Linked DNA regions of Homo sapiens: regions 1 and 3 are each linked to region 2. The links are contacts of gene promoters, found by promoter capture Hi-C in human tissues and cell types (Jung and others, 2019). All regions are on one chromosome and are shown on one strand. The core of a region is centred on a gene start or on the middle of the fragment in contact, and the rest is flanking DNA. Distances in the headings are between cores, read along the strand shown.

Region 1 (3,945 bases), core at 116-2,615, 240 kb after region 2:
GGGCGCTCACACGCGGCCCGGGTCCGCGGCCGAGAGCTGGGGGGATCTGGAGCGGGGCCGGGTCGCAAGAAGACCCTGACCCTGCTCCGGCGCTGGGGCGCGTGCTAAGGGCCCGCGGGGTATCAGCTGTATTTTCGAACCCCTGTGCTTGGCCGGGGAGTTCCCAAGGCTCCACTCCGCCTTGGAGGGGGCTGCGGAAGCCCGGAGGTGACCCGGGCTCTGGGAGGGGCGTCCCCAACGTGGGGGAAGGGAGACAGGGGCCTTCGAAGACAGCGCGAGACTCGGAGGGGGTCCCCCCGACCTAAGACGTGGTAAACTGAGGCCGGCGAGGAGCGAGGCTGAGTCCGGGGACCAGGCGGCCCCTCACTGCTCCTCCGGCCCGTCGCCCCCCTGCGCCTGTTCGTACGGGCAGGGCCGGCGGCCGAGTCCAGCGGGCTCGGGGCCAGGCCTGGGCCCCGGGGGCGGCGCCTCCTCCTCCGCGCCGTCCCCATGCTCGCCCTCCGCGTCGCTCTCGTCCGAGTTGTCCTCCTCCAAGTAGCCGTCACCGCGCACCTTGTGCTGGGGCCGCGGGATGCGGGGCTGGCGCGGGGCCACGCCCCGCCGCAGCTTCTGCTCCATCCGCAGGTAGGAGACCGCGGCCACCACCAGCGTCACCAGCAGCACCGCCAGCTTAGCCTGGGCGTAAGGAGAGGGATGCCAGGGACCCGCGGCCGCCTCGCCCCGCACCTTCTCCGCCTATACCCCTCGCTGAGATAGGCCCTTCCCTCCTCCGGGAGCCTCCCGGGCCACGCGGCCCTCAATTTCTCCAGCCCCTCCACCCACGTTTCCTGGACCGCCTCCTGCAGGCGAGGCTCACATCCAGCACTGTCCCTTACAGTCGCCATGCCCCTGGCGACCTCAGTGTCCCACGCTGTAAGGGGACAATGCAAATCCCTTTGCCTCTTAGGGTGCATGCGCCAGTGTTGATAAAGTGCTGGCCACAGGCCCTGCCTTCCCAGGGCTCACAACACTGTGTCCCTGACACACCCGTGGGCTGTAGTGATGCTTTTCATGGGGTTTTGACTATAACCCGCAGTCAGGAATGATTTCACACCATAGCTCAGTACACACACACATATCTGTATGCATACTTCCTGCTCTTTTCTTTTTTCCAGACACGGTTGCTCCGTTTCCCCACCGCGCCCCCTCCCTCCCTTCCCCCACCCACTGCTGGAGCGCAGTGCCATGCTCACTTCAGCCTCAATCTTCCAGGCTCAAGCCATCCTCCCACCTCAGTCTCACAAGCAGCTGGAACTACAGGCACGCGCCACCACGCCCAGCTAATTTTTAAATTTCTTGTAGAGACAGGGTCTCCTATGTTGCCCAGGCTGGTCTTGAACTTCTGGCCTCAAGCAATCCTCCTGCCTCAGCCTCCCAAAGTGTTGGGATTACAGGGGTGAGCCACCATGCCCAGCCCACTCACTGCTTTTCTTTTTTCTTTTTTTTTCTTTTTTCTTTGGGAGACAGAGTCTCGCTCTGTCCTCCAGGCTGAAGTGCGGTGGCGCGATCTTGGCTCACTGCAATCTCCATCTTCCAGGTTCAAGCCATTCTTGTGCCTCAGCCTCCAGAGTAGCTGGGATCACAGGGATGCGCCACCATGCCCAGCTAATTTTTGTTTTTAGTAGAGACAGGGTTTTACAGCCTGTTACCCAGGCTGGTCTCGAACTCCAGACCTCAGGTGATACCCCCACCTCAGCGTCTCAAAATGCTGGGATTACAGGCATGAGCCACTGCTCCCGGCCCACTCCCTAGTATTTTTAGTTCTATTTTTATTTTTATTTTTTTTTTTGAGACGCAGTTTCGCTCTTGTTGTTTAGGCTGGATGGAGTGCCAAGGCCCCGTCTCGGCTAACTGCAACATCCGCCTCCCAGTTCAAGCGATTCTCCTGCCTCAGCCTCCCGAGTAGCTGTGGTTAGAGGCACCTGCCATCATGCCCGGCTAATTTTTGTATTTTTAGTAGAGACGAGGTTTCACCATGTCGGTCAGGCTGGTCTCAAACTCCCTACCTCAGGCAATCCACTCGCCTCGGCCTCGCAAAGTGCTGGGATTACAGGCGTGAGCCACTGCACCCGGCCTTTAGTTCTATTTTTAAAAAATGTTTAGCAACTGGGACTTCCTAGACCGAGCCACCATCTTTTGGGAGCAGAACATGAGGAGCCTGCTCCCCTTCAGGCCATGAAGGGAGACAGACCCAACATCTGGAGAACAGGGTACCAAACAACCCACAGGATGGCTGTGATGCACCCACAAATCCCCTCAGAGATGGGCAAACTGAGACTGGCTGGAGGTGGGCCAGTAAGTGGGGTGCTGAGTTGGGGGCCACCCAGTGGGCTGCAGGAATGGGGCCTTGGCCCAGAGACTGGCTAGGGAAGGGGTGGCGTTTAGGAAGCTGTGAAGCCAGGGCAGGGGCTAAGGAAGTACCTGTCATTGGGCATGGGGCCCCCAACCCTGCCCAGTCTCACCTTCATGTGCAGGCTGGAGCCCAGGTACACGGTGAAGATGGCCACAGCCTGCCACCAGTGGTAGATGGTGAAGATGAAGTCCTGTCTCTCCTTGTCTTCGTACAAGATTCCCAGGAGTGCTGCAAGCAGGCAGTACAGGGCAGGCAGGGGAGAGGTGTCACCTGGGGCCTGGGGCTGCCGAGCTACCATCTATGAACTTTACTAAGCCCTGTATGTGTCCCAGCCCGGGACCAGAAAGCGCCTAGAAAGTGCTGTGAGCCGGTCCTGGCCTGCCCCCTGGTGGAGACCCTGGTCACCACACTGCTCACACGCTAAGCAGAAGTAGGAGCAGGTTCGCCAGGCTGTGTGGATGCAGGTGGTCCCGCTCCACACCACATGCGTGGCCTCAAAAGAAGAAAGCTCTGTGCTTAGTCATGTTCTGTCCCCAACCCCAGGTGTGCAGTGCCAAGCTTGCAGGCGCTGTTTCTCCTCCTCAGCCGGGACTAGAGAGATCCAACTGTTTGCAGCTGCCAACTCTGCAAATCAAACCTGAAGCTAAGCATGGAGAGGGGGGCTTCCTTTCCGGTGAGTCCTCCCAGGGTGGGCAACAAGAGTAATGGATTGGGAGTCAGAAGATGCACACTCGTTCTCAGGACTGTAACGTTGGTTCTGTGGGTGATTTGGGTACTTAACTCCCCAGAGCTGCTTTTCCCAATGGTGAGATGAGCCTATGCCTATAGTGTGCTGTGTTCTGAAGTTCTAAAGTGAGAAAGTGGGCATGGCACCTGCCAAATCATAGGGGCCACTATTAACACCTTCACCAGGCACTCAGGACATGAACACTCCTGTCTTGGGGCCCTGCAGGGTGACTTTACCCCCACAGTGCTGCTATGAAGAGACAAGGATCCCCCAGGGTTCACCTGTGGAGATGGGATATGGAGCTGGGCAGAGGGGATGCCATGACCAGACAGGGCACAACATGGGTCCAAGATACCCAGGTTGGACTCGGCCCAGAATTGGCTATCCTTGGGCAAAACGGCCAAGAGACTGTGGTGCAGTATGAGGCTCCAGCCCCTGCTACAGACAGAGACACCGAGCCAGCCTCTGCCCTGCCAGCAGCAGGCATGACCTCTGCCACTCCACACCCCCAAGGATGACGTTCAAAACTGTTCACAGCTTCCGCCCATCAGAACAGACACTGACATGGATGCCCCGCAGGACTGTGCCCGTGTGTGCTAGTTGTGTGTCACTGCGTGTGCCCATCTGTGGGCAGGGAGCATCCTGGAGCTGAACATGGGCCCACCCACTGCCTTCTGCAAACAGGGCCCTGTTCCCCACCAGCCCAGACCTGGGGCCTGGACTGTGGTACTGAGCAGACTGGGTTGGGGCTGCAGGCCTGCTCCTCTCTATACAAAGGCCCATGTCTGTATCTATGCCGTGGATGTACAACAGGCCACTTGCTCCT
Region 2 (3,974 bases), core at 1,224-3,723:
TGGGTAGCTCTTTTATGTTTTACAGACAGTCTTTTTTTTTTTTTTTTTTTTGAGACGGAGTCTCACACTGTCGCCAGGCTGGAGTGCAGTGGCGTGATCTCGGCTCACTGCAACCTCTGCCTCCTGGGTTCAAGTGATTTTCCTGCCTCAGCCTCCTGAGTAGCTGGGACTACAGCATGCGCCACCACGCCAAACTATATATATATATATATATATATATTTTTTTTTGTATTTTTATTAGAGACAGGGTTTCACCATGTCGGCAAGGATGGTCTCTATCTCTTGACCTCATGATCTGCCCACCTTAGCCTCCCAAAATGCTAGGATTACAGGCGTGAGCCACCGTGCCCGGCCAGCAGACAGTCTTGCTCTGTCGCCAAGGCTGGAGTGCAGTGGCATGATCATGCCTCACTGCAGCCTCCAAAGCCAGGGCTCTCACGATTCTCCTGCCTTGGCCTCCCAAAGTGCTGGGATTACAAGCATAAGCCACTGCGCCTGGCCCGGGTAGCATGTTTTTAAGATGGGAGAGCCCTGAGGATGTGTAAATCCTGTCAGAAAGAAGCCAGTGGAGGGAGAGGATAAAGACCTGAGGAGGGAGGGGCTCCTCAGGGCATGAGGGTTTGCAGGAGGCTAGAAGAGGCAGGTGCACACCTGCTCTGATCTTAAACTCCTGCCCATATCCTCCTCACCTTATCTGCTCGTCCTTATCCTGCCTAGCAGGCTGTCATCTCCACTTCACAGACGCAAGGCAGTCATTTGCCTGCAGTTACCTGGCTGCAAAAGGTCCCATGACCCTAGATGACTCTGTCTCCAAAGCCAGGCTCTTGCTGCACTTTTTCTAGCCTGGGGCAGAAGCCACCAGAGTGCAGGCTTTTCAGGCAAGGGCCAGAAAGGAAGCCTGAAACTCCAGTGCCTGTGGGGGCCAGAGAGATTCCAAAAACAGGACAAGGTGGCCACCTGTGCCACAGCAGTGTGAGCCCAGGGACAGGAGGAAGGGAGGGGGCTGTGAACCCTGAGGGCTCTTGTCCCCCACCAGGGGGGCATTCCTGCTGCACCCCAGGAGCACCTCCCAGATTCAAGCGATTCTCCTGCCTCAGCCTCCAGAGTAGCTGGCGTTACAGGCATGTGCCACCATGCCCGGCCAATTTTGTATCTTTAGTAGAGATGGAGTTTCTCCATGTTGGCCAGGCTGGTCTCCAACTCCAGACCTCAGGTGATCTGCCCGCCTCGGCCTCCCAAAGTGCTGGGATTATAGGCGTGAGCCACCGCGCCCAGCATGTTTGCTTGTTTTTAGATGGAGACAGGGTCTCACTCTATCACCCAGGCTGGGGTGCAGTGGCGCGATCATAGTTCACTGCAGCCTCGACCTCCTCCCGGGCTCAAGTGGTCCACCCACCTTGGCCTCCAAAGTAGTTGGGATTACAGGCTACTTTTCAGTAGCCCAGCTAATTTTTTAAAAACCTCTTTTGTAGAGATGGGGTCTTGCTATGTTGGCTAGGCTGGTCTCAAACTACCAGCCTCAAGTGATCCTCCCGAAATGCTGGGTTTACAGGCGTGAAGTACCATGCCCTGCCCCCAGATCTTTGGTTTTTTCTAAAGAATTTGAGCATCCCAATTTGAATTTGAATTCTCCAGGTTAGAGAGGTTTGTGCACCGAGAACAGGAAAGTTAGGTGGTGCAACATTAAGACGGGGTTAGGGAAGGCCTCCCTTGGAGAAGACCCCTGACCCAGGCAGGAATCCACTTGCCAAGTAGGGAAAGAGGAGAGGAGAGGGTGAGGGAGGTGGGAGGCCTGACCACCAGCCTTGTGGTCAGCGAAAGGCCGCAGGGGCGCTGGGCGGGAGGATTCCAGCTCTGCCAGTTCTCCACGGTGGCCTCATTTGATCTATGCAGGTCACAGTCCCTGATCGGGGGAGGGAGGCACACACTCCCTACTGGCCTGCCCTCCCCAGCCCCGGGGTCTAGGAGGAGGGCTCCACGGTGCGGACCGGGGTGGCCTCTCCAGGGCCCGCTCGGGCCGGGCCCGGATGGCGCCTACTCCCTCTCCGAGTGCCATCGAATTGTGTGCTAATTAGCCACAATTTGCACCGCGGCAGGGGCGCCCCGAGGCCACGCCTGCCCTCTAGGGGGTGGCAGGGATCGGGTTGGGTACCCCCCACCCAGACACCCAGGCAGTGACAGTCGCCAACCCCGTGGCGCGAGGACACGCGCAGCAGGGATGCGGCACAGCGCGCGCTGCGCTCGGCACCGGCCAGCCCGGGACGCCCCAGGGGCCGCCGCATCGTGTCCCCCGGGCCGGGTGAGTGGCCGGGCCGGGAATGGTTAAGCCCACCGAGCTGCGGCTGCCTAGAGCGGCGGCGGCGACGGCGGCGGCGGCGGCGGGGGCCGGGGCGCGGGGGCGCGGCGGGCGGGCAGGGGCGGGGGACAGGATGCGGATGCCGGGGGGACTTCCTGTGCCGGCCCCCGCGCCCCCGCCCCCGGCCCGGCCAGCGGCCCGCACGGACGCACTCCCGGGCGGGCGGGCGAGCCCAGGGGGACCCGGCCTTGCCGCGGCGCCCGCCCCGCCCCCGCCCCGGCCCCCGCGCGGCCCGGCCCAGGCCGCCCGCAGGCTCCGGGCACCTGTAGCCCCCGAGGACCCGCGTCGCCTGGCCGCCGCCGACCCCAGGCGGGGCCACCCCGTGGTGCCGACCCCGGGCGCCGGCCTGGATCCCGCTGCCCGCGATGGTCCCGGGGGGCCGGCCCTGAGCCCCGCGCGGGATTCGGGGCCCTGCCTCCCGCCCCAGCCCCCGCCGGAGAGTCTCCACCAACTTCTGCTCGGCCGCTCCTCTCAGCCCCTTCCCTTGGCCCAGGGCGACCTCGGCAGCCCAGAGGGCGTGGACCCTCCGGAGTGCCCAGAAAGCCCCCGGGGTGGCCCTGCGCCTCCTGGCTCTTTCTGGATGGAGGCGCCTCCGGAAGGAGCCGGCTGCACGCCGTGGCCTTCACCTCGCAGCCTCTGCTGACCACACCTCCCTAGCGCAGAGGCTGCCCGGGAGCAGGAAATGCTCCACCAGGTGAGGCCCAGGGGGTCGTTGGCGCTGGGCAACCGGGGACGCGTCCCTTGAGAGAGTTTGGACTGGATGGCACGAGTCGGCCTGTTTAGGGGAGAGGGGCCAGCTCTGCACGGGCCAGGGTGGACTCTCAGGAGCGCCTGGGCACAGGGCCAGGCCGTGGGTGACAGTGCTCTGGACACCTGCCTTGCCCGGGAGCTGGGGTGGCAGCTGACACACGTGGCCTGCTGGCGGCCTTCTCAGAGCAGGCCAGGAAGGCAATAGAATGGAAGGGCGCCAGGCGCAGTGGCTCACTCCTATAATCCCAACACTTTAGGAGGCCGAGGCAGGAGGATCGCCTGAGGCCAGGAGTTCGAGACCAGCCTTGGGCAACATCATCTACAATATAAAAAAACATAAAAATTAGCTGGGGGTGATGGCACGCACCTGTAGCCCCAGCTACTCAGGAGGCGGAGGCAGGAGAATCGCTTGAACTGGGGAGACGGAGGTTGCAGTGAGTCCAGATCGCACCACTGCACTCCAGCCTGGGTGACAGAGTGAGAATCCGTATCAAGAAAAAAAAAAAAAAGTATTTAATAAAAAAAGAATTGAAGGAGGCAGGGAGGATGTTGATGGACAGTCTCTCTTTGGCCCCAGAGCTCCCCGCCCTGAATGTCCCTTTGGTGACTCTAGCTTTCCTCCCTTGTGAAGGGCTGATACCCACAGTTGTGTCTCTGTGGGGCTACCCCACTCTCCATCCCGCTGTGAAAAGTCAGGAGAGGCAGTCCTGCCTCTATGCAGGTGACAGCCTCTGGTGCTGTCTGCCAACTCCCCAGTCCTGAGCCTCCAGGCCGCCGGCACTCCCCGTTCCCCGTTGCGGGGGACAGTCCTATAGTTGCAGCAGGTATGGAGCTGACCGCTCTGGGTGGCCCGAGGCAGAGGTGGAGG
Region 3 (4,234 bases), core at 1,492-3,991, 160 kb before region 2:
TACAACCATAAGTATGACAGCCTTTCTGAGCCTGAGTGCTTCTAGCAAATCATAGAACATGGCCGGGCTCAGTAGCTCACTTCTGTGATCCCAGCATTTTGGGAGGCCGAGGCAGGTAGATCACTTGAAGTCGGGAGTTTGAGACCAGCCTGAGCAACATGGTGATACTAAAAATATAAAAATTAGCCAGGCGTGCTGCCATGCACCTGTAATCCCAGGTACTTGGGAGGCTGAGGCAGGAAAATCCCTTGAACCCAGGAGGTAGAGGTTGCAGTGAGCCGAGATTGCAGTTGCACTCCAGCCTGGGTGACAGAGAGAGACTCTGTCTCAAAAAAAAAAAAAAAAAAAAAATCACTCAACTTGAAGGTGGTTTGGGGGATCTCCAACACAACATTCTTTGAATCAGTAAAATGTACAATAAATGTATGTGTATGGGCCGGGCACGGTGGCTCACGCCTGTAATCCCAGCAATTTGGGAGGCCGAGGCGGATAGGGCACAAGGTCAAAAGATCCAGACCATCCCGGCCAACATGGTGAAACCCCGTCTCTACTAAAAATACAAAAATTAGCTGGGCGTGGTGGTGCGCACCCGTAGTCCCAGCTACTCAGGAGGCTGAGGCAGGGAGGTCGCTGACCCTGGGAGGCAGAGGTTGCAGTGAGCCGAGATCGCGCCCTGCACTCCAGCCTGGCGACAGACTGAGACTCCAACTCAAAAAAAAAAAAAAAGTATGTATATATGTGCATATATTAGTTTTTTTGATGGGTTAGTTACTAAATACCACCACAGCACGCACTACTATATACTCTAAAAGCGTGGCTGTTGCTGGTGAGTTTTAAGCCTTTAGTTATAAAAGTGGGCCAGGCTGAGCATGGTGACTCACACCTGTAATCCCAGCATTTTGGGAGGCTGAGGCGGGAGGATCACTTGAGCCCGGGAGTTGGAGACCAGCCTGGGTAACATAGTGAGACCTCCGTCTCTACAAGAAATTTAAGAATTGGCCAGGTGTCTTGGCATGGGCCTGTAGTCCTAAGTACTCAGAAGGCTGTGGTGGGAGGATTGCTTGAGCCCAGGAGTTAAAGGAGTTAAAGACTGCAGTGAGCTATGATGGCACCACTGCCCCCTAGCCTGGGCAACAGAGAGAGACCCTCCCTCCAAAAAAAAAAAAAAAAAAAAAAAAGAAGGAAAGAAAGAAAAAAAGTGATAATCTGCTTCTGCTACGTGCAGGCTTTGGATGTGCTTCAAATTGACAAACCATAAAAAATATGTTTTTGGTTTTTTTTTTTTTTTTTTGCTGGACACCATTGATCAGAGATAAAAAGATGTTTTTGAGACAGGAAAATTTGAACATAGACTGTTAGATGATATTTAAGAATTACTAGCCAGGGACGGTGGCTCACGCCTGTAATCCCAGCACTTTGGGAGGCCGAGGCGGGCAGATCACGAGGTCAGGAGATCAAGACAACCCTGGCTAGCACGGTGAAACCCCATCTCTACTAAAAAAAATAGAAAAAATTAGCCGGGCTTGCTGGGGGGGCGCCTGTAGTCCCAGCTACTCGGGAGGCTGATGCAGAAGAATGGCGTGAACCCGGGAGGCGGAGCTTGCAGTGAGCCGAGATGTGCCACTGCACTCCAGCCTGGGCGACAGAGCGAGACTGCATCTCAAAAAAAAAGAAGTACTAACTTTGTTGGTGTGATAAAAAGTCTTTATCAACTAGGACTAGAATGTAGTATCTATGGATGAAATATGCCATCTAGGAGTTTCTTTAAAGTACCCAAGACTGGGCCAGGTGCAGTGGCTCACGCCTGTAATCACAGTACTTTGGGAGGCTGAGGCAGGCGGATCATTTGAGGTCAGGAGTTCGAGACCAGCCTGGCCAACATGAGGAAACCCCATCTCTACTAAAAATACAAAAAACTTAGCCAGGCATGGTTTTGGGCACCTGTAATCCCAGCTACTTGGAAGGCTGAGGCACGAGAATCACTTGAACCTGGGAGGCGGAGGTTGCAGTGAGCCGAGATCCCACCACTGCCCTTCAGCCTGGGCGACAGAGCAAGACTCCGTCTGAAAAAAATAAATAAAATAAATAAACTATTTAAAACTTAAGGGTGAGGTAAAACAAGTTCTCTAATTTTATGTATGCATGAAAACAAAGTTTATTTTCAAATGATGCTTGTTCAACTTTGCCTAATCTCTCCGTAATTACATACACACAAACATATCGTGATACGTATGTGTGGCATGCAAATATATAACCAAAACGCTGAGCCACCATTAATTCAGTAGTAGGTTGTGCCTATGATCGTGTGTATATATATATATATATATATATATATATATATATATATACACACACATATATTTATTTATATATTTACATTTATTTATTTATTTATTTTTGGGGGGGCGGGGAGGACGGAGTCTCGTTCTGTTGCCCAGGCTGGAATGCAGTGGTGGATCTCGGCTCACTGCAACCTCTGCCTCCTGGGTTCAAGTGATTCTCTTGCCTCAGCCTCCCGAGTAGGTGGGACTACAGGCGTGTGTCACCATACCCGGCTTATTTTTTGTATTTTTAGTAGAGACAGGTTTTCACTATGTTGGCCAGGCTGGTCTCGAACTCCAGACCTTGTAATCTGCCCGCCTTGGCCTCCCAAAGTGCTGGGATTACAGGCGTGAGCCATTGCTCCTGGCCTCGACTTTTTTTTTTCTTTTTCTTTTTTTAGACAGGGTCTTACTTTGTCATCCACACTGGAACACAGTGGCCCACTCTCAGCTCACTGTAGCCTCGACTTCCCAAGGTTCAAGTGATCCTCCTGCTTCAGTCTCCTAAGTAGCTGGGACTATAGGTGCACAGCACAACACCTGACTAATTTTTGTATTTTTTGTAGAGACGGGTTTTGCCACGTTGCCCAGGCTGGTCAAATTCCTGAGTTCAAGCGATCCACCCACCTCGTCCTCCCAAACCAAAGTGCTAGGATTACAGGCATGAGCTACCATGCCTGCCAAATCCTTTTTTTTTTTTTTTTTTTTTTGAGACAGAGTCTCACTCTGTCACCCAGGCTGGAGTGCAGTGGTGCGATCGCAGCTCACTGCAACTTCTGCCTTCCGGGTTCAAACGATTCTCCGACCTCAGCCTCCCGAGTAGCTGGGATTACAGGCACGCACCACCATACCCAGCTAATTTTTTTTTTTTTGTATTTTTAGTAGAGATGGGGTTTCACCATGTTGGACAGACTGGTCTCAAACTCCTGATCTCTGGTGATCCGTCCGCTTCGGCCTCGCAAAGTGCTGGGATTACAGGCATGAGCCACCATGCCCCACCTCATGCCTGCCAAATTCTTAAAAGTAATAGTTCTTTTAAAAACAGGATTTGTACTTAGCAATAAGATAATGTTTCTACATAAACTTTTGTTAGTATAAGTAAAGGTATTGTGAACTTAATGTTACAAACAATAACAAAACCCTACAAAACAATTTAATTTCAAAGAAATCTCTTTTGGGAAACTGGTAGTATACAAATTTTATTTTATTTTATTTTATTTTTGAGACAGTGTTTCATTCTGTTCTGCAGGCTGGAGTACAGTGGTGTGATCTTGGCTCGCTGCAACCTCCACCTCCCAGGCTCAAGCGATCCTCCCACCTCAGCCACCTGAGTAGCTCAGACTATAGGCACGTGCCACCACATCTGGCTAATTTTTTTGCATTTTTAGTAGAGACTGGGTTTTGCCATGTGGCCCAGGCTAGTCTTGAACTCCTGGCCTCAAGCCTCCCAACGTGCTAGGATTACAGGCATGAGCCACAATTTTTTGCTTCTTTTTCTTTTTCTTTTTTTTTTTCAGACAGAGTCTCCCTCTGTAGCCCAGGCTGGAGTGCAGTGGTGCAATCTCCACTTACTGCAACCTCCATCTCCTGGGTTCAAGCGATTCTCATGCCTCAGCCTCCTGAGTAGCTGGGATTACAGACGTATGCCACCATGCCTGGCTAATTTTTGTATTTTTAGTAGAGACGGGGTTTCACCATGTCCAGTTTCAGGCTGGTCTGGAACTCCTGGCCTCAAGTGATCCACCCACTTCAGCCTCTCAAAGTGTAGGGATTAAAGGTGTGACCCACTGCGCCCAGCCCACAAATTTTTTTAAGAAGTAAAATTTCGGCTGGGCCCGATGGCTCACACCTGTAATCCCAGCACTTTGAGAGGCCGAGGCAGGCGGATCATGAGGTCAGGAGATCGAGACCAT

Evidence for each region. Contacts are between HindIII fragments. The study calls those that stand out against the background at their distance.
Region 1: a contact is called between a fragment that was not itself captured here and the fragment with the promoter of ZNF853 in region 2, in 1 of the 25 tissues and cell types used here (dorsolateral prefrontal cortex).
Region 3: a fragment that was not itself captured here is called in contact with the fragment with the promoter of ZNF853 in region 2 in 1 of the 25 tissues and cell types used here (aorta).

Annotation. Positions count from the first base shown.
Region 1 is chr7:6,855,123-6,859,067 of GRCh38, forward strand. It overlaps the pseudogene UNC93B2. Among named protein-coding and RNA genes, the nearest start is that of CCZ1B, 31 kb to the left of the region's middle. The HindIII fragment of the contact is 9,684 bases long and covers 1-3,945 here.
Region 2 is chr7:6,613,137-6,617,110 of GRCh38, forward strand. ZNF853 (zinc finger protein 853) reads left to right here and starts at 2,474. Exons shown (of 3, transcript NM_017560.3): 1 at 2,474-3,050. The coding sequence starts at 3,039. RefSeq lists enhancers at 604-1,357, 1,358-2,111. The HindIII fragment of the contact is 23,550 bases long and covers 1-3,974 here.
Region 3 is chr7:6,454,161-6,458,394 of GRCh38, forward strand. No RefSeq gene overlaps it. Among named protein-coding and RNA genes, the nearest start is that of DAGLB, 8.3 kb to the left of the region's middle. The HindIII fragment of the contact is 6,615 bases long and covers 1-4,234 here.